5 separate regions of the Homo sapiens genome follow, and all the other regions are linked to region 4. Evidence: promoter capture Hi-C in human tissues and cell types (Jung and others, 2019). All regions are on one chromosome and are shown on one strand. The core of a region is centred on a gene start or on the middle of the fragment in contact, and the rest is flanking DNA. Distances in the headings are between cores, read along the strand shown.

Region 1 (2,777 bases), core at 49-2,548, 310 kb after region 4:
GGGTATTAAGGAAAGAAGAACGGAGACAGAAAATCAGACACTGGGGATTCACCAAGTTCAGCATAAAACTTTGAAAGCTAGAGATTTAAACATCTTATTTTCAAAAAACTCAGTAATTTCTGACAGCATTAAATGCTTCTTTGATTTGCTAGTTGTTTGAGACTACTATAGTCTCTTATACATATTCAGCATTGTTTGGGGTTCTCTGAAAAGATGCATTTCCCTACATGTTGAATTGACCTCAATGACTAATTTTGCATTTCCAAAAGGTCTATTATTTAGAAAATGTGTGGTCTTTTATGATGGTGACATACTCTTCTCCTGTTTGCTTGCCTTTAATAGCTGTGTAGGCACTTATCTGATAGCGTCCATCTGATAATTCTATTACCTGCAGTCTTAGGGTTGAATCCTGCTATTTGCCGTGTCTGCCAACTTGTGTCCCTGTTGGACGTTACTGGCTTGTGTGACTTCATCTCCCAGGGGCACTTATCTATGGATCTAGTATGGATTTGGGTGGAGGATGTGCCTCCAGATTGGTTTCCTGTTTGGTGGAGCTAGCAACATAACATAAATCCCTTTCTTTGGGGATTCCCGGACCAAACTGGTAACATCAATTCAAAGCCTGACCTTGGGTGAGGCCAGCTTCAGTCCTCCCACTCCTGATCCAGAGGCTCATGCTGGGGAAACAAGTATCAGTGCTGCCTCCCTGCTCCCTGCCCTGGGGCCAGCAGGCAGATGCTTCTCTTGTTCATTCATTTCCTTTCTTTCCCTGCAATGTTGGGCCCAGGCCCCATCTCCTGTTCCCTTGGAGCTGCTGAAACCCAAGGCTCCCAGTTACCAGTTCTGGCAACAATCTCCCTAATCCACCCACCCAAGGGCCACAGAGACCACTCTGGTTCTCAGTTCTTTGTTTGCTTGTTTTTTGAGACAGGGTCTCGCTCTGTCGCCCAGGCTGGAGTGCAGTGGCGTGACGTCGGCTCACTGCAACCTCCACCTCCCAGGTTCAAGCGATTCTCCTGCCTCAGCCTCCCGAGCAGCTGGGATTATAGGTACCCACCATGACACCCAGCTAATTTTTGTATTTTTAGTAGAGATAGGGTTTCACCATGTTGGTCAGGCTGGTCTCGAACTCCTGACCTCAAGTGATCTGCCTGCCTCAGCCTCCCAAAGTGCTGAGATTACAGGCGTGAGCCACCGTGCCTGGCCTTCTGGGTCTCAAATCTAAAATCAATTCCAACTCTTGAAGATTCCCCTAAATTTCCTGGGAATTCAGCGATGTATTTAAGAGGATACTTTCTATTTTATGCAGTGTTTTATTCAATATTTATTGAGCACCTCCAGTGCTAGGCATCATCTAAAGCGTGGGGGATACAGCAGTAAACACAGCGGCCACATCTGCCCTTGGGGCTTCCCTCCTCTCTCAGGTGTTCCGTGCAGGACTGTTTCCAGGTCACCTAGGCTGCTCTCCTGCCAGCTTTACTTTCCAGCTACACATTACTCTATAAACTCAAAATGTAAAAATCCTTCTTATTTAATGCATTAGGTGCTAGCCAAAAGCTTTATTAGGTGTAAAAACAGACATCCTAATCAAGCTTATTGTTTAAGAAAAGCAAAGATCTATTAGTTTAGTTTCTATACATTGCATGAACTATTTAGTTTGGTTTTAATTTTAATAAATAATATATATGTTAAGAAGCCATTTTTATCTGAAACAATATATGAAGCTCATACTTCAGTGTCATTGGATTTAAAACGTGCTCTTCTGTTTGAACCACACCTTTGAAGAGTCACAGAAAGGGAGGTCCTTGAGCCAGTTCACTGGGGAAGTCGGACTCACCTACGATGGCTCCAGTGTTGTCTCTGGAGACTGCTGCCTGCCCAACAGCAGACAGGTTTAGATCCTCCTGATTATCAGAAGTTTCATTTTCCTTTATTGTCCATTTTTGCTAATGCAATATTAAAACTCCCACGGACAACTGCCCCTAGCTGGGATGCCAACGTCACTCCAATGTTACAAAAAACAACATACAAAACGTGCTATGGCAAAAGGTTCAGCCTAGAATTACTCTACTGCCACACAACTGCATACAACCACATACATTTGGAGAAAAGTTTCACATGACACATAAATGTCTTCTAAAAAAATAAATATTTCCCTTTACCACCCAATCCCCAAAGGTTTGATTCTAAAAAAAACCCTTTTTTTGTTCACTTACCTAGGATTCTGATTATACATCAAATTCATCTTGATCTCCCTATTAAAGCAGCTTATCTAAACCACCACCACCCTCACTTGTTTCCGAGGCTGCTGAGACACTAGTCTTGACAATTGTAACCATTCTCCCCACGTCAGTGTTCCGGAACTCCCGTCCATGTCTTCCCCAATAGAGCTGCATCCCACACTGATTGACAAAGGCTAACTTCCCTACCTCCAGAGAAAGTGGCTTACAAATTACTTCCCACACTTAAGAAGATAACTTCACAATCTCAAACACAAACAGAAAAGGAAGGCTTTTCATGGCCATCACTAGAGTGCCTAGCAATGCTACTCCTCTATTAGGACAATTCCATCACCATGACCATGGCTTCATTTTCTGGAGGGTTCCATTTTGTCCTGGCCAGTTTTGCAACCACTTATTTCAAAAGCAGTACATGAGGCCAACACATGAGTGCAAATACTTGGCATAAAACCCCACGTAACTTCCTTGTGGCTGGCATTTCACAGCTGAGGCACGTGGGATTGTGAGTGCTTTGTGTGCTTCCTTGATTGAAGGATA
Region 2 (2,700 bases), core at 150-2,649, 410 kb after region 4:
AAACAATGTGCTTGATAGTTCCATTTCTCATCGGAAAATAAATAGGTTTTCTGTTTTGCAAATTTCGAAGACAAGAACAAAAACCTACAAGGGAAGTAATTAGGTTTGGCAAGGCTTTATGGTGAAGGTAGCAAATGAGCCTTGTCAATGCGGTAATGGGTCCTAAGGTGGGGAAGGCAGATATTATTTTTCTCTCAGTGCTGCGGATGAAGAAACCAAGACACAAGGCAAATAAGCCACTCACCCCACACCATAACACTGTTAAGTGGCAGGGCCGGGCTTTGAACTCCGAAGTGCCTGGCGGTGCACACACTCCTGCCCCACTGGGTGCTGCCTCCTCTCATACACTCTCTACTCCCTGCGGGCACCAGGCCACCATCAGAGCTGGGGTCTTTCCGAAGAGTGAGACGGGCCGACTTTGCAGGATGCACAGAGGAAAGAGATGCCAGAGAAGTGGCTGGAAGGAAAGAGCTAAGGGTCCTCAGACAACAGTCAGACATGCTGAGATGTCTTGCTTCCTCATGGAAAGTTCCCACTAGATGTCTGCCCTGGGGTTCTCAGAGCCAGGAGCAGCTCTGGAATTTCCATTTGCAAGTGAGATGATGGTGGAGAGAAGGTTTTATGCTCATCAAGAATCGGAGGCCTTTGGGAGTGCATGGAGCCCATAGGACGAAAGAGTTCCACTCAAACGAGTTCTATACAAGTTAAAAATGGAAAAGATGAGGAAGAAATTTTTTAATTAAAACATTAAATAGGGCGGTGAGTGTGGAGGAGCACAACCCCCATGCGCTGATCCAGGAAGAGGCTGGCTTTGAGCTCCTGATTAATTAGCTGATTTTTGATCCCTCCAGAAGTTTAAATTCGGTCCTGGGGGAGTGTTCTGAGAAGACTGATGAAAGGGGGCAAGCGGTTCGATTCTTTGAGACTTTGGGAAAACAAAACCCATTAAGGCTCAAGGAAACCTGCTTGTGACATTTCAGCTGCCATTGAACAACACGACCTTGCGTGGCCCAGCGTCCCTTTGTGCTACGTGAGGAAACACGCAGTGGCCAAGCGTCAGCAGCCCAAGTACGTGCTTGGGTTGTGCTTATGTGCGGTGCGGTGAAGAAGAAGCACGGCCTGTGGCTGTCTCAGACGCTGATTTGAGTGCAGGCAGTGTGATTGGATCAAATGCTGATTTAACAAGGTGCTTTAGAAGGCCCTTAACAATAGTAATAGCATTGCAGATGCAAAAGTGATGTCATCGGGATTCATGATGTTTTTGATGGTGTGTGTGTGTGTGTGTGTGTGTGAAATTGACTTGGCTTATTAGGTCATAGATGGAAACATTTTCAGCTGCTTATCTCCCGTGGCAGTTTCTCCACATTACTGAGTGGGGAAAGACTTGCCACAATCCCCCTATTCCTGTTTGTCTGTCTTGAAGGCCAGTGGGGTCTCCCAGGAGCTATGTTCTGATCGAGACTCTGATCCAAGCAGGGAGAAGAGGGAAGGCCAGGAGCATGAGCCTGAAATTCTAACAGGAAGTGTCTTCTAGAAGGCAGAGGAACAGGCAGATGCTTAGAGATGAGAAGCCTCCTTGTCTGCACTGCTTTTCTGCTCCTTTAAATTGATATTGGGCTCCAAAGGTTCATCTTTGAACTCCCTCTCCTTCCCCTTCCCCAAAGACTTCTGAGCCATCTGTCTTGAGACTCCACCTTTGTTGAGCATCTACTGCATGCCGGGTACAGCCAGCACCCATCCCTGTCATTGTGCCCCTTCCTTAGCCCCTCAGATCTACCCCACACACCCACCCAAGCTCTCCTAAGTCCTCAGTGATGACCAACTTCCAATTTGCTGTCCTTGCATGTGTGGCTGGCGTCACCGCACAGCTTGGGAGGGAGAAGCCCCAACCGGGGCCTTTGCCGTAGGAACCAGCACATTCCCACGTTTCTCCTGCACGAATAACCACAGCGTGTGCAGATTTCAGGATAAGTCTCACAGCAGCACTTCCAGTTGCTGAGAAATTTCTTGAATAAAGGAGAAATATATGTATTTATTTTTGCTGTGCAAAAGTATCAATGTTTCCCTCCAAATATTCAACCTGAGTGTTTACTTTTATAATTTTTAAATTTAAGGACAGAATATACCACATCAGTTGCTGTTAAGTACGCTGCAAATCTCAAATGAGGGGGGAAATAGAAAAAAGACACATCCATGTTTTCACTCCTGATTTCACAATGTTCATATGACCTTTGTTGCTGTCAGACAGCTCGTGAATTCAGTGAAATATAAACATCTTGATAATGGTTAATTTGGTCGGGAACTAACTAGAAGGCCAACTTGAATGTACAAAATGCCCATTTTTTTTTTCCAATTTAAGAAATGCAGCCTTTTATGTACAGTAATAATAGGAACTAAGCAGCAGATGTTCATTGCTGATTTAGGAATTGAGACCCTGACGCCACAGTCTACAAAAGACGCTGGGCCAGAACAGTGCCGTCATAGCCAGGGTACGCAGGGCCCTTTTCATTGGGTACTGCATTTACTTAGGCCACAAGAGACGGAGTGACCCTACCTTCAAGAACAGGCTGTGAGAACAAAGAAAGACACAGAAGCTTGCCAAGGAGAGAGCTGAGCTTTGCAAGTGACCTGACCTTAAAGTTGCTGAAGCTGTTCAGAAATCTTCTTTGAAGAAATACAGCTCAGAGAAGAGTTACTAGC
Region 3 (2,700 bases), core at 121-2,620, 460 kb after region 4:
AGCCTGGTCAACATGGTGAAACCCCATCTCTACTAAAAATACAAAATTAGCTGGGTGTGGTGGCGTGCACCTGTAATCCCAGCTACTCGGGAGGCTGAGGCAGGAGAATTGCTTGAACCTGGGAGGTGGAGGTTGCACTGAGCTGAGATCACGCCATTGCACTCCAGTCTGGGCAACAAGAGCAAAACTCAACAACGACAACAAAAATTAAACTCAAGAGCTATAAACCACACTGCCTTCTTGCAAAGTCCAACTGTAACCCCCAAACTATCCTACTAAACAAGGATAGCACTTTTGTTAATACTACAGTTGACAGACTGAAAATGCAGAAACTAAGATTGAGTTGTAAACATAAAATAGACCACAGATTGCTGAATGAGCTACAAATGCCCATGCCAAACACCACCGTTTTTTTTGTTGAACTCATCTTTGAGGATCTGTTTCTTGAGATCACTCCTGGTTCCAGGTCCTCTATCAGTCAGGAAGACAGACACCAATGCGGGATATCTAAACAGAAGGATTTAATACAGGGGACTACATGGTTGTTCAAATGCTAAACCAATGAAGTGAAGGAAGCAGCTACCAACCCTAGGGCCCTGGGGGCAAAAAGGGGAGGGCACTGCCACAACTCAGGAGCTCAGAGGAAGGACCCCTGCAAGACTGGGTCCAAGCTTCTGAGGAGGGGAGTGCAGACTCGGAGGAGCAGGACCCTGGGGGGCAGAGGGACTGCTGAGGGTACAGTCCAGCAGGGGCTGGAATGACCCAGCTGGCAGGACACTGAGAAGCCCAGATGCCACTGGTACCTCTGACAGGGCACAGTGAGGTTGGAGCCAGGGGTCCCGCAGGAAGCTGGAGGCTAGAGCTGGTGGTCTGTTGTTGCTCCAGGGAGGCTGATGGGAACGGAAAAATGGCAAGCAAGCCCCTTCTTCCCTCCTGCCAACTTCTAGCTCTCCATCAGCAGATTTTAACAGGAAGAGCAAGAGGGTTTGGCAAATATAGTTGGGAGTCCCAACCCCAGCATCACAGAGCAGAACACAGAAGGGCAGGGTGGGAGGTGAGGGTAGGTAAATCACCAGCAGTCGTAATCGACTGTGGCTGATAAAGGCATATACACGAACTAAAAATCTTTTCTGGAGGACACGACAATCCAGTTTGCTACAGCTCAGTGGCACTAAAGAAGTCCCTGCACACTGCTGTGCTGCCATCGCCACCGTCCATCTTCCCCAGCTGAAACTCTGCACCCAGAAACAATGCTTCATCCCCTCTCCCGCCCTCCTGGGAACCACCATTCTACGTCATCTCTATGAATCTGGGTGCTCCATATACCTCATGTAAGTGGAATCAGGCAGTATCAGTCCTTCTGGGCCTGCTTATTTCACTCAGCGTAATGTCTTCAAGATTCATCCGCGCTGCACATGTGACAGCATTTCCTTTCTTTTTAAGGATGAATATCCCATTGTTTGTAGAACACACATTTTGTTTATCCATTATTTTGCTGATGGACATTGGGGCGGTTTCCACCTTTCGGCTCTCGTGAACAATGCTGCCGTGGGCACTGGTGTACAAGTACCTGTTTGAGTCTCTGCTTTCGATCTTTTAGATATAAACCTAGAAGTCAAATTGCTGGATCATATGGTAGCTCTATGTTCAGCCCTTTGAGAAAACATCAAACTCTTTTCCCCAGTGGAGGACTATGCTTTTCCTGTCTAAACACTCAAAAGGATTAAGCTGTGGAGCTCATGGAGAATACTGTCATATATACAATTTATAATTGGATAAATAAATATGGCAACTCAACTTCATTCATAAATACAAAATTTTATTTGCACTTCATTAGTGTAGAAAGACCACAATGCTTTTCATACCACAACACTCAAGACACACCAAGTTATTCAAATACATAATTACTTAATTACCTTGACTAAACAAAACAGTGCAGTTTAATAAAAGATATACCAAAGATAGAGTTCACAAATTCATCATCAGACCAAAAAAAAAAAAAAAAAAAAAAAAAAAAAAAAAAAAAAAAAAAAAGAACACAGTCTAGGCTTAATCAGAATAAGCTTCACCGTAAAGAAGGGGGAAGTTTTATCATTACAAAGGTACAGAGTGTTTAGGCAAATACACGTATGTTCTTTGATATAGTAAAATGCATCTCTTTAAAATTCCTTTAAACAGGATTTGTTTAGGACAGCAGCGTGTTTTAAAATCTTTTTCTATAGTTTCAAAAACATTTCTTTCTTTATTGAATCTTTGTAGTTCTTAAAAGCATAAAGGTACATCCCTTAGGAAGCCATGAGAGAGATTCTGTGGCCTTAGGACCAAGTCAAATCCAACCCTCTAACTAGTAATATTCTACCATTATGTAACATTAATAAATAACCTTCCATGACGGCCATGAATGGAGCTTTGCTTCGTGGCAGAAACACTCCAATACTTCAGATGCTACCACTGGGGGAAATGTCTTGTAAATAAAGAAAAAGCACTTAAGATAGCTTTTTTTCAAAAAGTCTTTAGTTTTACAAATTTTCTTTAAAACGGTAAGCAAAGCACCACGTTCTCTCTTATCAGAATATCTTCTGTCCTCATAATATAATTAATAAGGACAATTATATTATTTATTTCAAGAAACATTATACCTTTCATTTCTCCCATTCTTCATATTAGAAGTACTAGGTTTCCCAGTGTATGTACACTAGA
Region 4 (2,700 bases), core at 133-2,632:
AACCACATTGGATGACCCTATTCATCTCTCTAACACTGTACTTTTACATTGTCTCAACCTTAAAGTTCCTCTTACATGAGACTATCAATTCCAAAAGAACGGGAACTGTCTAAATCTTTTCCTTATCTGTAATATGAGGAAAAAGTAATACCAGCCTCAAAAATGAGATGTGGAATGTAGATATTTAACTCGGTGCTTGGCATACAGAAAACAGTTATCAAATGACTATCATTATTATCCACACTGTTAACTAGAGCTCAGCAGTGCATGACGTACAGTAAGACTTCAAATGTTTATTGAAAGACTGAACTCTGCAAAAAGGAATATTCCCATTTTACAACTGAAGAAACTGAGGAAGATTAACAGCACAAAGTCATAGAGCCACAAAAGGCAGTTAAGCTAACATCCAAACTCGAGTCTAACTCTAAAGCCCTGAATTCATTCTCAATGAATATACACTAGCTCCCTCTTGCTGAGAACTGACTTAACCTATTTCACTCTTAGAAAACAAACAAAACTAAGGCTTCTTTCCAGTATTACTTGTGTAACAGGCCCTGTTGTTATAATCGACATTTCTGGAAATCTGCATTTTTAGATTAACGTGAAGGAGTGTTTCAACTTCTCTGCAATTCAATTTCCTTGCCTACCATGAGATGTACTTGGATCTCAAAAAGATCATTTAATCTCTAAAATCCTGTGGTTCTTTAATTGGGTGCTGTTATTTGCGGCGCCGTTCTTTCAGAGTTAGTTTGATACCGTTTATTTAGCCAGCATTTCCGATATGCAAAGCACAACTGCAGTAAATCAAACATTGGCCACCCTTTTCCAGCCCTAATGAAGTTCTCCCTAAGCCTTCACGAAGCAAGCCAGAGCTCTCCAGTATGCTGCAACCTAAAAGCATCGAGGTCACTAGGCTTGAAACGAGAGGTGCCTCCTTCGGAGCGACGGTCTTCGAAACTGATCTGGCCAGAGCAGGCCTAGATTCTGCGCTACAGCAAAACAGCAAAAACAAACAAACATATATATATATATCACCAAGCAGCCCCTCTTTTCTGTCCTCCTCGACCAAACTAGGAGTACACTTCCCAGTATGGCAACCCTCCCTCGGGGCTTCTCACGGTGGGGCTGCAGCGGCCTCCCTAAGAGGGCTAAGGCCGCAGTGTCCTTGCCGCCGCCTGCAGGCCCGTGCAGAGCCCAGGGCTCTCCTGCGCCCAAAACTAAGGGAGACACGGAGAGCAAGAGAAGGGCGGCGGCAGCGCCGGGCTCAGCTTGAGCCTCCTTACCCAGTGGGCGGTGAGGCCAGCCGCCCGGGCCCGGAGCGCCGCGGAGAAGAACATGGCGGGCCACACTGTTCACCTTCCCCAGCCGCGCCAGGCGAGAATCCCGAGCGCGCCCAGGGCGCACAGCGTGCGCGCTCCCGACCCCAGGCCTAGGCGACCCGGACGGCACGCCGCTCCCTTCGCCGAGGGGCGGGGGCTGACGGGAGGGAGCGAGGGCGCGCGGGGGCTGCTGGGGCCCTGTGGGCGGAGACTTCCCGGGGGAGGGGCGGGGACCAGTCCGTGCTCGGAAAGGGAGGTGTCCTACGGGCCGCTGCAGGGGTCCCGGCCTTGAAAAGAAGCGTCCCGGAGCTGCACCTTGGGCTCCTGGGTAACGAAGCGCCCGCCTGGATTTATAGGGGTGAGCTTCCCTCATGGAGAGCCTTGTGAGGATTAGCCACCTCCTCTTATATTGCTGTTAGTTAAAAATAAAGTCGGGTTGCAACCCACTATAAATCTTATTCTACATGTTACGAATTCAAGACACAGAGGGCTGCTATCCAGTGTGCTAGCCATAGACACCAAATGTCTTGGTTCCCAATCTTTTGCATTAGAGATATGTGCGACATATTTAGGGGTTAAATGGTATGATGTCTGGAATTTGCTTGAGAATAGTGGGGAGCGGGAGGTGAAAAATAAAGCAAGTTGGCCGTTAAGTAAGGCCATAGAAGCTGCATGGTCGTTCTTATTTACTATTCTCGGTACTTTTGTACATATTAGATATTTTCCATAATAAAGCTGAAAAAAAAACCCACTTCCTTCTTCATGTTTGTTTGGTTATCTCTGGAAATTCCAACAAGTATTTATTCAGTAACAGCTCTAATGTGCACAGCACTATTTCCTGGTGTGGACTTCCTCTTGATTTTTTACGTCACTGCCTTCTTTTCTGGAGTGTCACGTCCTGTACCCACCCCCTTCCTTTTGCCCATTTTCTTTGCTATAATAAACTTGTGAATAATTTCTAGAACATTCACAGCAGCACAGGGATTTTAAAAATTTATCCCTCATTAGTTTAAAAACTCAGAAATATTCCATTGCAACCCCTATGAATCATATTTCGCAAATCACAGAATTCAAGACACAGAGGACTGCTGCCCAGTGAGCTAGAAATAGATACCAAATGCCTTGGTTCCCACTCCTTTGCCTTATATTTTATGTTAGTTTGCCTCTCCTAAATTAGCTTCAGTATTTCCCTTTAAAAGGAAAAGACAGTCTGGCCCTTAATGTAAATGTATTTTGTTATAAAGTTACCTAAATACTTATACACCTGGCCGGGCGCGTGGCTCACGCCTGTAATCCCAGCACTTTGGGAGGCTGAGGTGGGCAGATCACGAGGTCAGGAGATCGAGACCATCCTGGCTAATACGGTGAAACCCCGTCTCTA
Region 5 (2,700 bases), core at 30-2,529, 370 kb after region 4:
GGGAGACATTCAGTTGGGCTGTGTAACTATGTATGGGTGACTCGGCGTCTTTTCAATGCGAATGATTTTTTATTACCAGGGAGAAAAAAACAACACAACTTGCTTATTTGGCTCATAATCATACCATTTCAACGTACGATGGCTCACTTGAGTCTGAGCAACACCAAGAAACAGCACTCAGGCCGTAGAGAATCCTATGGAGTATTTTCTAAGCATTTCTATTTCTCTGACTCTTGATTCTGCACTTGAAGATAAAAGTTACCTAAATTAGCCAAACACGGCAGCTCACCCCTGTAATCCCAAAACTTTGGGAAACTGAGGTGGGAGGATTGTTTGAGCTCAGGAGTTTGAGACTAGCCTGGGCAACATGATGAGACCCAGTCTCTACTAAAAAATAAATAAATAAATAAATTTAAAAAATCAAAAAAATTAGCCGGGTGTGGTGGCACACGCCTGTAGTCTCAGCTACTCGGGAGGGTGAGGCAGGAAGATCCCTTGAGCCCAAGAGGTCAAGGCTGCAGTGAGCCATGATCCCTGGGCAACAGAGCGAGACCCTGTCTCAAAAAAAATGAAGATTAAAAGAATAAAGTTACCTAAATTATATTACATCAATAACATGACTTGTAGCATATAAATTCAACAGACCCCAAGAGAATCAAATACAAATTTTGAGGCGGGACACAGTGGCTCACGCCTGTAATCCCAGCACTTTGGGAGGCTGAGACAGGTGGATCACTTGAGGTTAGGAGTTCAAGACCAGCCTGGACAACATAATGAAACCCCGTCTCTACTGAAAATACAAAAATTAGCCAGGTGTGGTGGTGCACACCTGTAATCCCAGCTACTCAGGAGACTGAGGCAGGAGAATCACTTGAACCTGGGAGGCAGAGGTTGCAGTGAGCTGAGATCACACCACTGCACTCCAGCCTGGGTGACAGGGTGGGACTCTGTCTCAAAAAAAAATTTTTTTTTTGAGAAGAGCAGTAGTTTCTATTTTTCCCATAGCACAGACAATGCTACAAATTTGATGCAGTTTACTGCCTAGTGAAAGTCTAAATTATTCAGAAATATGTGCTGTCTATATTTTAATTATTATTTTTTTTCTTGAGACGAAGTCTCGCTCTTGCCCCCCAGGCTGGAGTGCGATGACGCGATCTTGGCTCACTGCAACCTCTGCCTCCCAGGTTCAAGCGATTCTCTTGCCTCGGCCTCCTGAGTAGCTGGGATTACAGACGCCTGCCACCATGCCTGGCTAATTTTTGTATTTTTAGTACAGACGGGGTTTCACCATGTTGGCTAGGCTGGTCTTGAACTCCTGACCTCAGGTGATCTGCCCGCCTCGGCCTCCTAAAGTACTGGGATTAGAGGCATGAACCATCGTGCCCAGCCTATTTTAATTATCATTATTATTATTTTTTACTTTTTTATCTTTTTTTGAGATGGAGTCTTGCTCTGTCGCCCAGGCTGGAGTGCAGTGGCACAATCTTGGCTCACTGCAAGCTCTGACTCCCGGGTTCACGCCATTCTCCTGCCTCAGCCTCCCGAGTAGCTATGACTACAGGCGCCCGCCACCACGGCCGGCTAATTTTTTGTATTTTTAGTAGAGATGGGGTTTCACCGTGTTAGCCAGGATGGTCTTGATCTCCTGACCTCGTGATCCGCCCACCTCGGCCTCCCCAAAGTGCTGGGAAAACAGACGTGAGCCACCGCACCCAGCCAATTATTTTTAAGAAAAGCAGCAAGCACAGTGTCTGTTTCACTACAAGTCAGAGGTTCCATTCTAACGTGTAGGTAAAATGCTGAAACGCCCTGCACATTATCAGAGATTCCCATCTTCCAAGAAAGGCTGTCTTAGAGAAGGAGAGAAATAGATGGATCTTCAATCTCTCAGGAAGTCTGCAAAGTAATGTTCACACAGCATCGCTGCGTCCAAGGTAGCCATCCCAAGGGTGCCATAATCTGCCCTAAAAGGTCCCCCGGAGCCTGCAGTGCTGTGGGCGAGACTGCACAGGAAATAAAAAGAAGGCAGCTGTACAGCGCACAGGGGACAAGCCGGCGTTGTCCAAGCCCAGCGAGGAGCCTGGCTGACGTTCAGGAAGTTGATGAACAGAAGCGGCTTCGCTTATCACTAACCAAACAGGCCAATTTCATGACTCACAGTCATTGTCAAAAAACTTGACCTACAGTGGAATTACTGGCCTTTATTAACTATCCTTAGGTAATGATATAAAGAATCAGAAATTCCTCAGCAAGAGATTTTTAAATAATGTTTTGGCTCTTTCTCAAGGGAAAAATAAAGATGATAAAACCTTCACCCATGGAACAAATATTTATCCAGCGTTTCATAAGGACGGGGCTGTGTAGAGAGACACAGACATACCAAAAGGCAAAGAGGTGAGTGGGCCAAAATGCCATTGAGGGATCAAATGGGATTCGGATCTGCTGGCTGGCACGGACTCCGCACCAAGAAAGCACTTTCAGGACATATATAGCTAAGTGATCAAGGCTGGGTGGCTCTGGCAGAGATCAATGGAACAGAGCAGAGAACCCAGAAACAGACCCAAACACATGTGCCCAACTGATTTTTGACAACAATGCAAAAGTAATTCGATGGAGGAAAGGTGGCCTTTTCAACAGACGGTGCCAGAGTAACTGGGTGTTCACAGGCCAAAAAAATGAAGCTTGACCTAAGTTTCATAG

The links. Contacts are between HindIII fragments. The study calls those that stand out against the background at their distance.
Region 1: a fragment that was not itself captured here is called in contact with the fragment with the promoter of NDUFV2 in region 4 in 1 of the 25 tissues and cell types used here (mesenchymal stem cells).
Region 2: a contact is called between a fragment that was not itself captured here and the fragment with the promoter of NDUFV2 in region 4, in 1 of the 25 tissues and cell types used here (dorsolateral prefrontal cortex).
Region 3: a fragment that was not itself captured here is called in contact with the fragment with the promoter of NDUFV2 in region 4 in 1 of the 25 tissues and cell types used here (dorsolateral prefrontal cortex).
Region 5: a contact is called between a fragment that was not itself captured here and the fragment with the promoter of NDUFV2 in region 4, in 1 of the 25 tissues and cell types used here (lymphoblastoid cells).

Annotation. Positions count from the first base shown.
Region 1 is chr18:8,789,162-8,791,938 of GRCh38, reverse strand. All of the region lies in intron 6 of MTCL1 (microtubule crosslinking factor 1), which reads right to left. Among named protein-coding and RNA genes, the nearest start is that of GACAT2, 83 kb to the right of the region's middle. RefSeq lists an enhancer at 905-1,428. The HindIII fragment of the contact is 3,706 bases long and covers 1-2,777 here.
Region 2 is chr18:8,688,170-8,690,869 of GRCh38, reverse strand. It overlaps the pseudogene TOMM20P3. Among named protein-coding and RNA genes, the nearest start is that of MTCL1, 16 kb to the left of the region's middle. RefSeq lists an enhancer at 1-713. The HindIII fragment of the contact is 5,020 bases long and covers 1-2,700 here.
Region 3 is chr18:8,638,482-8,641,181 of GRCh38, reverse strand. It overlaps RAB12 (RAB12, member RAS oncogene family), which reads right to left. Exons shown (of 6, transcript NM_001025300.3): 6 at 1,799-2,700. Among named protein-coding and RNA genes, the nearest start is that of RAB12-AS1, 3.5 kb to the right of the region's middle. The HindIII fragment of the contact is 3,546 bases long and covers 1-2,700 here.
Region 4 is chr18:9,101,381-9,104,080 of GRCh38, reverse strand. It overlaps NDUFV2 (NADH:ubiquinone oxidoreductase core subunit V2), which reads right to left and starts at 1,382. Exons shown (of 8, transcript NM_021074.5): 1 at 1,284-1,382. The coding sequence starts at 1,337. RefSeq lists an enhancer at 313-1,022 and a silencer at 1,295-1,654. The HindIII fragment of the contact is 4,084 bases long and covers 1,031-2,700 here.
Region 5 is chr18:8,729,981-8,732,680 of GRCh38, reverse strand. All of the region lies in intron 3 of MTCL1 (microtubule crosslinking factor 1), which reads right to left. Among named protein-coding and RNA genes, the nearest start is that of GACAT2, 24 kb to the right of the region's middle. RefSeq lists an enhancer at 1,976-2,270. The HindIII fragment of the contact is 4,723 bases long and covers 1-2,700 here.